Regions from separate parts of the Homo sapiens genome. Here region 2 is linked to region 1. Evidence: promoter capture Hi-C in 16 types of primary human blood cells and fetal thymus (Javierre and others, 2016). All regions are on one chromosome and are shown on one strand. The core of a region is centred on a gene start or on the middle of the fragment in contact, and the rest is flanking DNA. Distances in the headings are between cores, read along the strand shown.

What was found. The method cuts DNA at HindIII sites, captures the fragments that hold promoters and counts their contacts. A CHiCAGO score of 5 or more calls a contact.
Region 2: a contact is called between the fragment with the promoter of ZDHHC1 here and the fragment with the promoter of PDP2 in region 1, in 6 of 17 cell types (naive B cells, activated CD4 T cells, M0 macrophages and 3 more). The highest score is 10.8, in naive B cells.

The regions. Positions count from the first base shown.
Region 1 is chr16:66,877,323-66,882,532 of GRCh38, forward strand. It overlaps PDP2 (pyruvate dehydrogenase phosphatase catalytic subunit 2), which reads left to right and starts at 3,193. Exons shown (of 2, transcript NM_020786.4): 1 at 3,193-3,318. RefSeq lists enhancers at 707-756, 2,907-2,986, 3,235-4,007 and a silencer at 3,467-3,646. The HindIII fragment of the contact is 2,608 bases long and covers 1,617-4,224 here.
Region 2 is chr16:67,414,275-67,419,484 of GRCh38, forward strand. ZDHHC1 (zDHHC palmitoyltransferase 1) reads right to left here and starts at 2,203. Exons shown (of 12, transcript NM_001323627.2): 1 at 1,897-2,203. It overlaps LOC124903702 (a long non-coding RNA gene), which reads left to right and starts at 1,629. Exons shown (of 2, transcript XR_007065093.1): 1 at 1,629-1,869. RefSeq lists a silencer at 1,870-2,259 and an enhancer at 2,092-2,749. The HindIII fragment of the contact is 9,596 bases long and covers 1-5,210 here.

The DNA.
Region 1 (5,210 bases), core at 1,943-4,442:
AGACAGGGTTTCACTATGTTGGCCAGGCTGGTCTCAAACTCCCGACCTCAAGTGATCTGCCCACCTTGGCCTCCCAAAGTGCTGGGATTACAGGCGTGAGCCACCGCCCCCAGCCTAATTTTTGTATTTTTTGTAGAGATGGGGGGGTTTCACCATGTTGCCCAGGCTGGTCTCGAACTCCTGAGCTCAAGTGATCTACCTACCTCGGCCTCCCAAATTGTTGGGATTACAGGCATGAGCCACTGTGCCTGGCCATTTCTTTGGTTTTGAGTGAGGCTGAATATTTTTACATCTTTTCTCTAAAAATGCCAATTGAACAGCTGGGCACAGTGGCTCACGCCTGTAATCCCAGCACTTTGGGAGGCCAAGGCAGGCAGATCACAAGGTCAGGAGTTTGAGACCAACCTGGCCAACATAGTGAAACCCCCTCTCTACTAAAAATACAGAAATTAGCCGGGTATGATGGCACATGCCTGTGGTCCCAGCTACTTGAGAGGCTGAGCCGGGAGAATCGCTTGAACCCGGGAGGCGGAGGTTGCAGTGAGCCGAGACCACACCATTGCCCTCCAGACTGGGTGACAGAGTGAGACTCCATATCAAAACAAAAACAAAAACAAAAACAAAAAAAACCTGCCAATCGAGCTATGCTTTCCCTTTCTCGAAGGAGAGAGAAGTAATCCTTTTCCATCGTATTTGCTTATAAGACCTTGGGACAAGGAAGCCTTGAGAGATCCGGTGAGGGACTTCGGCTGGCCATCCTATATAGGGTGACTGAACTGGTTATAGCCTTGAAATGAAAGTTCCAATGCACATAAAATCCTCCAGGGTGCATTTTTACTTTGGAAGTGGGTGTGTGTGGTAACTTAGAAAAACTCAGTGGTTTCAGGCTTGGTGGAATGATGTAATTTTTCTCAGGAAAGTGGCGGGGGCCGCCATCTGTGTGTCTCAGCAGTCAGCCCAGGGCCTGACACATTGTGGGCACCCATAACACCTGCAGATTGAATAATTAAACACTGCTGCCTCTGTCCGGAAGGGTAACCCGTTGTGACCCTATATGACCTGTCTGCTGGGGGGAGGGAAGAAGTGTGCTTTTGCATTCTCTTGCACTCATTTATTAGAAACCCTTAGACTTTTTTTTAGTTTGGGTCTGAAACAGTCCTCTTAATATGCAGGAAGAGAGATATTGCCAGTCCTGACTTTGAACTTCTGGAAAGGGCTAAGGGTGAGTGGAACTATAAATATACAAGGGCAAGTCTGACATGAGCAGTTTTATTGTGACCACGTCCTTGGGTCCAGGAGGCTGGCCAGGCTGCCCAGGTAAGCCAGGGTGTCTTCCTTCTGGAAAACCACACTCTCAGGGCTCCAAGTGGCTTTTTCTGGTTGTCTCCCATTTTTCTCTGTCTCCAGGGAAGGACTCCATCTGACTTACCATAGTTACAAGAGTTCTGTGAAAATAATTTATAAGGAAGCAGGTCATCACTGGAATGCCACAATGTTAGGACCAGAAGGGACGGAGGGATTATCTGGTGTCGGGGTTCGCTGTCTCTCTCAACCTACCAGCCGCCAGCCGTGCTGAGTTAATTGTCAGTAGCAGGCCAATATAATGGTCAGTTCAAAGCTTAATGGTTTGTGGGAAACCACTAAAGACTTTAGGGCAGGAGGCCGGGCGCGGTGGCTCACGCCTGTAATCCCAGCACTTTGGGAGGCGGAGGCGGGCGGATCACGAGGTCAGGAGATCGAGACCATCCCGGCTAAAACGGTGAAACCCCGTCTCTACTAAAAATACAAAAAATTAGCCGGGCGTAGTGGCGGGCGCCTGTAGTCCCAGCTACTTGGGAGGCTGAGGCAGGGGAATGGCGTGAACCCGGGAGGCGGAGCTTGCAGTGAGCCGAGATCCCGCCACTGCACTCCAGCCTGGGCGACAGAGCGAGACTCCGTCTCAAAAAAAAAAAAAAAAAAAAAAAAAAAAGACTTTAGGGCAGGAATTTGAGGGTTTTTTTGGTTTGTTTTTGTTTCTGTTTTTGTTTTTTTTGAGACAGACTCTCACTCTGTCTCCCAGGCTGGCGTGCAGTGGCATGATCTCACCTCAGTGCAACTTCCACCTCCCTGGTTCAAATGATTCTCATGCCTCAGCCTCCCAGGTAGCTGGGACTACAGGCGCGCACCACCACTCCCAGCTAATTTTTGTATTTTTAGTAGAGACGGTTTCGTGATGTTGGCCAGGCTGGTCTCAAACTCCTGACCTCAGGAGATCCCCCCGCCTCGGCCTCCCAAAGTGCTGGGATTACAGGCAGGAGCCACCGCACTCGGCCTTGGAATTTGAGTTTTAGAAGTGTCATTCTGCCAGGCGTGATGGCTCACGTCTGTAATCCCAGCACTTTGGGGAGGCTGAGGTGGGAGGATTGCTTGAGCCCGGCAGTTTGAGACCAGCCTGGGCAACATAGAAAGACCTTGTCTCTACCCACCAACCACGAGAAAAGGTGGGAGGGGCGTCATTCTGGCTGCTCTGCTCTGTGGTTAGGACCAAGTCAAAGGTGGAGGAGGGAAAACCGTAAAATCAAGTGAGAGGCTTGGAATAGGGTGGCTGCGTCGCCGGATGGATGAGTGGAGAGAGATTTAGGAGATAGGATTTACAGCATTAGATAACTGGAAAGAGAGGGTGAGGGAGAGGAAGGAGTCAAGATGCCTCCCAGGGTTTTGGCTTGGGTCTCTGGGCAGATGGTGGGGCCATTACTGGGTTAGGAGAGAAGAGAAAAAGCAAGTTTGGCAGAAAGCTGAGTTTGGGGTAAGTTATGTTTGAGGCGCCTGGGGGCCTCCAGAGGCAGGTGTCCAGGTGGCTGGACATCAGGGTGTGGCGCTCAAGAGAGGGTTCTGGAGTGGTCGACACCGAAGTGGAGAGGAAGCAGTGAGGTGTTCTAACAACGGTGAGGAATTGGGGAGGCCGCTGGGTTCGGGGTATGCAGAGTGTAGCGGCCACGTAGCTGGCGATCTCAGGCACGTGACTGCCTGGTCCTGTGGCCCCGCGCTCGAACACTTTCAGCACCCAGGCAGGGGGTAAGGGGCGGTGTTGCCCCCTCCCGGGTCCCGCCTTTCTGCCCGCCTCTCATCCTCTTTAGCCATTGGGCAATACCTCTGTCCATCAAGGGCCCGCCTCCGCAATTGAGCCAACCAGGGCTGGCGGGAGGGCGCTTCCTTCTGGAGCTGGGTCCTGACTAGGGACCGCCTGGGTGAGGTGAGGACCTGGTGGCCGCAGTTGTGGCACTGTGCGCAGGCGCTGAACTGACCGGACGGAGCGGGCGGCTGTGGCCTCGCCAGCTGGTGAGAAGCGGGCGAGGGTCCGAGGTAGGGAAGGTAACGAGCGGGGGATGTGGACACCTCTTTCCCCGCCAGGCCTCGCCGGCGCCTGACCCTCCCGGCCTGCGGCACCGGCTCAGGTGACTGGGCGGAGGGAGAGCTGAGGTGAGGGGGCGGGTCCGCGGCGGAGAGGGACCAGCTGGGCCTACGACCACGGTCACCCCACTCACGTGCGCGCGCCACGTGGGCCCGCGGGCTCGCCGAGGACCCTTGGCTGCCTACCGGGGCACCCCACTAGCTGCTCTGGCCTATCGAGCACCCCTTGGAGCTCTGTGTCCCGACTGCACGCCCCTGTTTTACAGGCTGGCAAGCCGGGGCTCAGAGGCACCAAGCGGGTCGCCCGGGGGCACCCAGCTGGGGTACGGCCGTGCCGGGGTTCTAGGGAGATCGGTTTTGGTGGGCTCCGGAGTCCATGCACTTAGCGATGAGGCTGAAGTCAGAGATTTGAACTTGGGACCTGTCTGTTTTCTTTAAGGATGCAAGAGGGTTTGCGTCCTGGCTGCGGTGTATCACCCTGCACCGCTGCCTGCCTTGACTGCAGGGCCGGAGCGTCAGGCGCCCTCTGCTCCCGGACAGACCGCCCCCGCACCGACTTCTGCGGGGTGGGCTGGCAGGGGGTGGGGGAGTGAAGGGACGGTCCTCAGTCCTGGGAACTCTTGAGGTCCCGACAAATGATCTCGAGATCCCGAGGGCAGGATTCATACATGAAAAGCTCATTATAATGGGTCAAGGTTTTGTTCTGTTTTTTTTTTTTTAATTTAATTTAATTTAATTTAATTTAATTTAATTTATTATATTCCAAGGAAAAGTACCACCAGGGCTAGTGAAGGGACTAGGAAACTCGTCACCCCCTTGAGGAGGCAGATGTGAAGCTTTTGGAAATCAGTTTGGCAATGAGTCTACACCCTTGGACCTACTGACTCCTTGTTTGGGAAATAACTAGGATAAAACCTAAGTAGAGAAAAGGTTACTGCATAAAGCAGTACAGTTTGGTGGGGTTTTGTTGTTGTTGTTGTTTTTAAAGAGACAGATCTGGCTCTGTCGCCCAGGCTGGAGTGCAGTGGTGTGATCATAGCTCACTGCAGTCTTGAAATCTTGGGCTCAAGCGATCCTCCCACCTCAGCCTCTTGAGTAGCTGGGACTACAGGCACTTACCACCATGCCCAGCTAATCTAAAAATTTTTGTAGAGATGGGGCACTTGCTGTATCACCCAGGGTGGTCTTAAACTCCCTAGCCTCAAGTGATCCTCTTGCCTTGGCCTCCCAAAATGCTGAGATTATAGGCATGAGCCACTGTGCCCAGTCCAGTTTGGTATTTTATATTAATAAATAGCAAGTAGTAGAAACAACCTCTAAATTTCCAGCCGTAAAGAATAGTTAAGTAAGTTGTGATTATTTATGTCAAAATGTAGCCATCAGATGTGAAAAAATACTCTTATCAGGAAAGCCAGATTCAAAGTTGGGGTTACAACTCTACAAAAATACGTACAGAATGACTGTGCGCAGTAGCTCCCACCTGTAATCTCAGCACTTTGGGAGGCCAAGGGCGGAAGATCGCTTGAGCCTAGGAGTTTGAGACCAGCCTGGAAAACACGGGGAGACCCTGTCTATTAGCTGGGCCTGGCGGCACATGCCTGTAGTCCCAGCTATGTAGGAGGCTGAGGCAGGAGGATCCCTTGAGGCCAGAAGGGCAAGGCTGCAGTGAGCCACGATCTTACCATTGCACTCTAGCCTGGGGACAGAGCCAGGCTCCATCTCAAAAACAAAACAAAACAAAAAAAAACCAAACAAAAAATACCCAGAATGACTTAGAGGGGTATATACCTAATGATGAAAATAATAGCTACTTTTTTTTT
Region 2 (5,210 bases), core at 953-3,452, 540 kb after region 1:
CAAAACAAAACAATCTGGCTAATTAAGCACCACTGTTGCTTTTACTGCATCTCATGGTGATTATCTGTTTACAAACCCGTCTCCCACAGTGAACCACCAGTTCCACAAAAGCAGAGACCACCCCTCACCCGTGTCTGAACCCAGCTCTCTTTCAGTAAAGGAAGTCAAGCCACTTTTTTACCATCTCTGCTGTCATTACCCCAATCCAAACCTCCAGCATCGCTCTCCTACAGTGTTTGCATGATAATAACCAACACCAGCATTTAGAATGCACTTATTCTGTGCCAGGCACTGTTTCAGTGGAATTCACTCATTCAATCCTCATAGAGCTCTAAGGAAGGTCCTATCATTTCCAACTGTTCTTGTAGATCCCTGTAGTCACTGATTTCAGATGTGACTGGCCTCTCACTTCCTCATAAAAAACATACAGAACACCCACTCCCATCATGAGGACACTGAGGCTCAGAGACACTAAATGAGTTATTTTAGGAGGCACAGCTAGATTGGCAGAACTAGGATGGCCCTCAACTGACTTCCCGGTATGTCTGTCACAACCATGCTGCTCAGCAGCCAGAGTGAAGTGAGCTTTTCAAACGTGAAACTCATCCAAACTCTTCTTTGGGAGGCCAAGGTGGCTGGATCACCTGAGGTCAGGAGTTCAAGACCAGCCTGGCCAACATGTTGAAACCCCGTTTCTACTAAAAATACAAAAATTAGCTGGGTGTGGTGGCAGGCGCCTGTAATCCCAGACTTGGGGGGCTGAGGCAGGAGAATCGCTTGAACCCGGGAGGTGGAGGTTGCAGTGAGCCGAGATTGTGCCATTGCAGTCCAGCCTGGGTGACAGAGCGAGACTCCATCTGGAAAATAAAAATAAAAATAAACAAAAAATAAAAAACTCTTCTGCCGCTTGCAGTGGCTCACACCTGTAATCCCAGCACTTTGGGAGGCTGAGGCAAGAGGATCCCTTGAGACCAGGAGCTCGAGACCAGCCTGGGCAAAATAGTAAGACCTCATCTCTACCAAAACCTTAAAAAATTAGCTGAGCGTGGTGGCGGGTATCTGTAGTCTCAGCTACTTGGGAGGCTGAGGCGGGAGGATCGCTTGAGCCCGGGAGCCGGAGCCTGCGGTGACCCATGTTCACACCACAGCACTCCAGCCTGGGTGACAAAGGGAGACCTTGTCTCAAAAAAATAAAAAATTGGCTGGGAACGGTGGCTCACACCTGTAATCCCAACGCTTTCGGAGGCCGAGGCGGGTGGATCACCTGAGGTCAGGAGTTCGAGAACAGCCTGGCCAACATGGTGAAACCCCGTCCCTACTAAAAATATAAAACTTAGCCGGGCGTGGCGGCGGGCGCCTGTAATCCCAGCTACTCCAGAGGCTGAGGCAGCAGAATGGCTTGAACCCGGGAGGCGGAGGTTGCAATGACCCGAGTCGTGCCACTGCGCTCCATCCAGCCTGGGTGACAAGAGCGAAACTCCGTCTCAAAGAAAAAACTAAAACTCTTCCCATGGTTTCCTTTTAAAACAGACCCTCCATGACCAACCCCTCCATTTCAATACCAGAGAGCCTAACCCGACCTGAAATCACTTTAGTCATGTATGACATCCGCTTCCCAGCCCCCTTCCTTAATGCTCTGGGTTCTGGAGACAGACCACGTCTGTTGGGAGTCCTCTGTGCCCACGCCTGGCACAGAGCCTGGCAAAGAGTAAGCGCTCAAGGAAGATCTGTGAACTTGATGCATGCTAAAAGGAAGCCCCGCGCTCTGCCGGGGCCCTGGAACTCAGGCCACCGGCTCCAGGCGGAAGCGAGCCCAAAGCCGGCCAGGCGGCAGCATCCGCTACCCCGTGGCTCAAGCCAGGCTCCGAGGTGAGAAACCGGGCGGGGACTCCTCACCTGCGCGCCGCGGAGGCCGTGCCAGATGGGCCCTGCCAAAGTCAGCCAGAGGTTCGGGCCCCACGCCTGGCCTTCCACCCTCCCCGGGGCAGCCGCGCCTCAGACCCTCGCGGTAGGGACGGTCCCCGGGACTGGGCGGCAACGCGCCCGGGAGCGGGGCCCCATCCCGGACGGAGACTGGGCCGGTGAGTCCTCGAGCTCTGGCTCTGGCTCCGGCTCCGGCTCCGGCTCCGGCTCCGGCTCCGGCTCCAGCAGGCTGGAGGGGCGGCCAGGCCAGACCCAGACTGGCTGGGCCTCGTCCGGCGCTGGGCCCGTTCCCCTGACAACGGCGCGGGCTACGGCGCCCCACAGCGGCCAAACCGCGCTGCGTCACTCCGCGCCGGTCCCCCGGCCAGGGCGGGGCTTGCCAGGGACCCTCTTGGTGCCCCAGTCGGCCCATTCCCAGATTCTTCCTAACCTTTCGTCTAGAAAATCCGCTTTTCCCTACTCCCGAGTCACAGCTTGTCTCCCCGAAATCCTAACATCTCAAAAGCGCCCCCTTCCAGTTTCTATCCTGAGACCACCGCTCTCAAGAAGAGACCTCCCCCAACCCCAGTCAACCTGCACACTTCAATGAGCGTATGTGCTGGAACATCCATGATATCCCGACCCTTCCGGGAGCTTACAGGTTAAGAGGCAAACAGATCTAGACAAATAAATTACACCACTAAAAATGCAGGTACCCCAGAATATAAAGCGAGAAGCGTAAGAGCTTAAAATAAGCAGCACAAAATATCTCATTTATTTATTGCCTTTAAATCAAGCAAAAATCAAGCCCCAATCTTCCAGGCTGATGGGAAATTCAGTCTTTTTCTATTTTTTAAACTGGTCTCTGTTACCCAGGCTGGAGTGCAGTGGCACGATCACGGCTCTCTGCAGCCTCGAACTCCTGGGCTCAGGCGATCCTCCCGCCTCAGCCTCCAGAGTAGCTAGGACTACAGGCGAACACCACCACGCCCGACTAATTTTCGCATTTTTTTGTAGAGGCGTGGTTTTGCCATGTTGCCCAGGCTGGTTTCGAACTCCTGAACTCAAGCGACCCGCCCACCTCAGCCTCCAAAAGTGCTAGGATTACAGGCGTGAGCCCCTGCCCGGCCGGGAAATTCAGTCTCAGTCTCCACTGTACTCCTTTTAGCTAGGTAATTCCAAAGGACTCATGTTTTCCTATAGCAAAAAACAACAATCAAAAACAAATAAGCAAAAAACTCTCTGGTCAGGGTTTTGTCTGGTACTGAGGCCACAACCATTGCTCCAGTCCACAAAGATTTTCAGGTTTGGGCTCTATGAGGCCATCCCTGCCTGAGGCCCCTGCCTCTCCCTGGGGCTGCCAGGGACAGACACCTGCTTCCTCTGCTCCATGGCCTGCAGCCTCCCTTCCCTTTCTCTACCTGGGAGACTTCCCTGCTAACTTGGTTTCCCTAAAAGTCCCCTCTCCTCTTCTCCTTGTGGACACTCAGAATGGAATCTTCTATGAGCTCAGGCTTTCTCAAAAGACAGGAAGACACTTTGTCTTCTGCTATCTGTCCTGTGCGCATCTCCAAGGCAGATATGACAGATAGGGAAAGAAAACATCCTTATCTCTAAAATGTATAAGTCACAAGCATACTTATTGTATGTTTTATTAGGCAACATAACTACTCCTTCTCTGTCACATGACAGGTGTGTGGGTCCTTGTGCAAGTGACATAACCTATTACTTAAATTCTTGTTTTCAAGACTGATAAACTCAAACTCAATGTGAGATAAATATCAATGCTATTCTGGCTTCAGAGTACAAGCTGACTACTTAACTCTTATCTGGAATTGGAAAACTTCGGGTCAAACAGAGATCATGACCCAGAAATCAAGGTGAAGGATGAGGCTGGATGCAGTGGCTCACACCTGTAATCCCAGCACTTTAAGGAGGCTGAGGCAGGAAAATCACTTGAAGCCAGGAGTTTGAGACCAGCCTGGGATACATAGAGAGACTCCCATCTCTACAAAAGATGAAAAAAAATAGCTGGGCCTGGTGGCCTGTGCCTATAGTCCCAGCTACTCACGAGGCTGGGGCAGGAGAAAAGAATCACTTGAGTTCGGGAGTTCAAGATTGCAGTGAATTACGATCATGCCACTGCACTCCAGCCTGGGTGAAAGTAAGATCTTATCTCTCAGCTGGTCTCAGTGGCTCACACCTGTAATCCCAACACTTTGGGAGGCCAAGGCAGGTGGATCATGAGGTCAGGAGATCGAGACCATCCTGGCTAACACGGTGAAACCCCATCTCCACTAAAAGTACAAAGTAAGCCAGGCGTGATGGCATGTGCCTGTAGTCCCAGCTACTCGGGAGGCTGAGGCAAGAGAATGGCTTGAACCCAGGAGGCAGAGGTTGCAGTGACCCGAGATCGCACCACTCTACTCCAGCCTGAGTGACAGAGTGAGACTCTGTCACACACAAAAAAAATCTTATCTCTCTCTCTCTCTCTTTTTTTTTTTTTTTTGAGACGGAGTCTCGCTCTGTCTCCCAGGCTGGAGTGCAGTGGTGCGATCTCAGTTGACTGCAGCTTCCACCTCCCGGGTTCAGGCGATTCCCCTGCCTCAACCTCCCGAGTAGCTGGGATTACAGTTGCCTGCCACCATGGGATTGCAGGCATGAGCCACTGTGCCCGGTCAGATTTTATCTCTTTAAAAAATAATAATAAATAAATAAATATTTTAAAAAACAAGGTGGGACTGGGCATGGTGGCTCACACCTGTAATCTGAGCACTTTGGGAGGCCGAGGCAGGCAGATCACTAGAGGTCAGGAGTTTGAGACCAGCCTGGGCAACATGACGAAACCCTGTCTCTACCAAAAATACAAAAATTGGCCGGGCATGGTGGTCTGCGCCTGTAATCCCAGCTACTCGGGAGGCTGAGATGGGAGGATCGCTTGAACCCAGGAGGCAGAGGTTGCAGTGAGCCGAGATTGTGCCATTGCACTCCTTACAGGCGACAGAACAAGACTCTGTCTTTAAATAAATAAATAAATGCAAATACAAATAAAAATTAAAAAACAAAGTGAAAGATGAATCCATATATTCCCATAATAAGGGGAGGGACCCAAAAGACCCTGGATCCACTTGACTCAGGGGCTTCTCTCCTGGATGTCCCATTGGTGTCTGGGATGTAACACATCCCCACATGTCCTCTTTGTCCTTGCCACAAATCTGCTCCTCCCCTTGGGCCCTCTGAAGGGCACCACCATCTACCCAGTAAGCCCATCTGTACACTTAGGCATCTTCCCATGTCTCTCCTGCTAG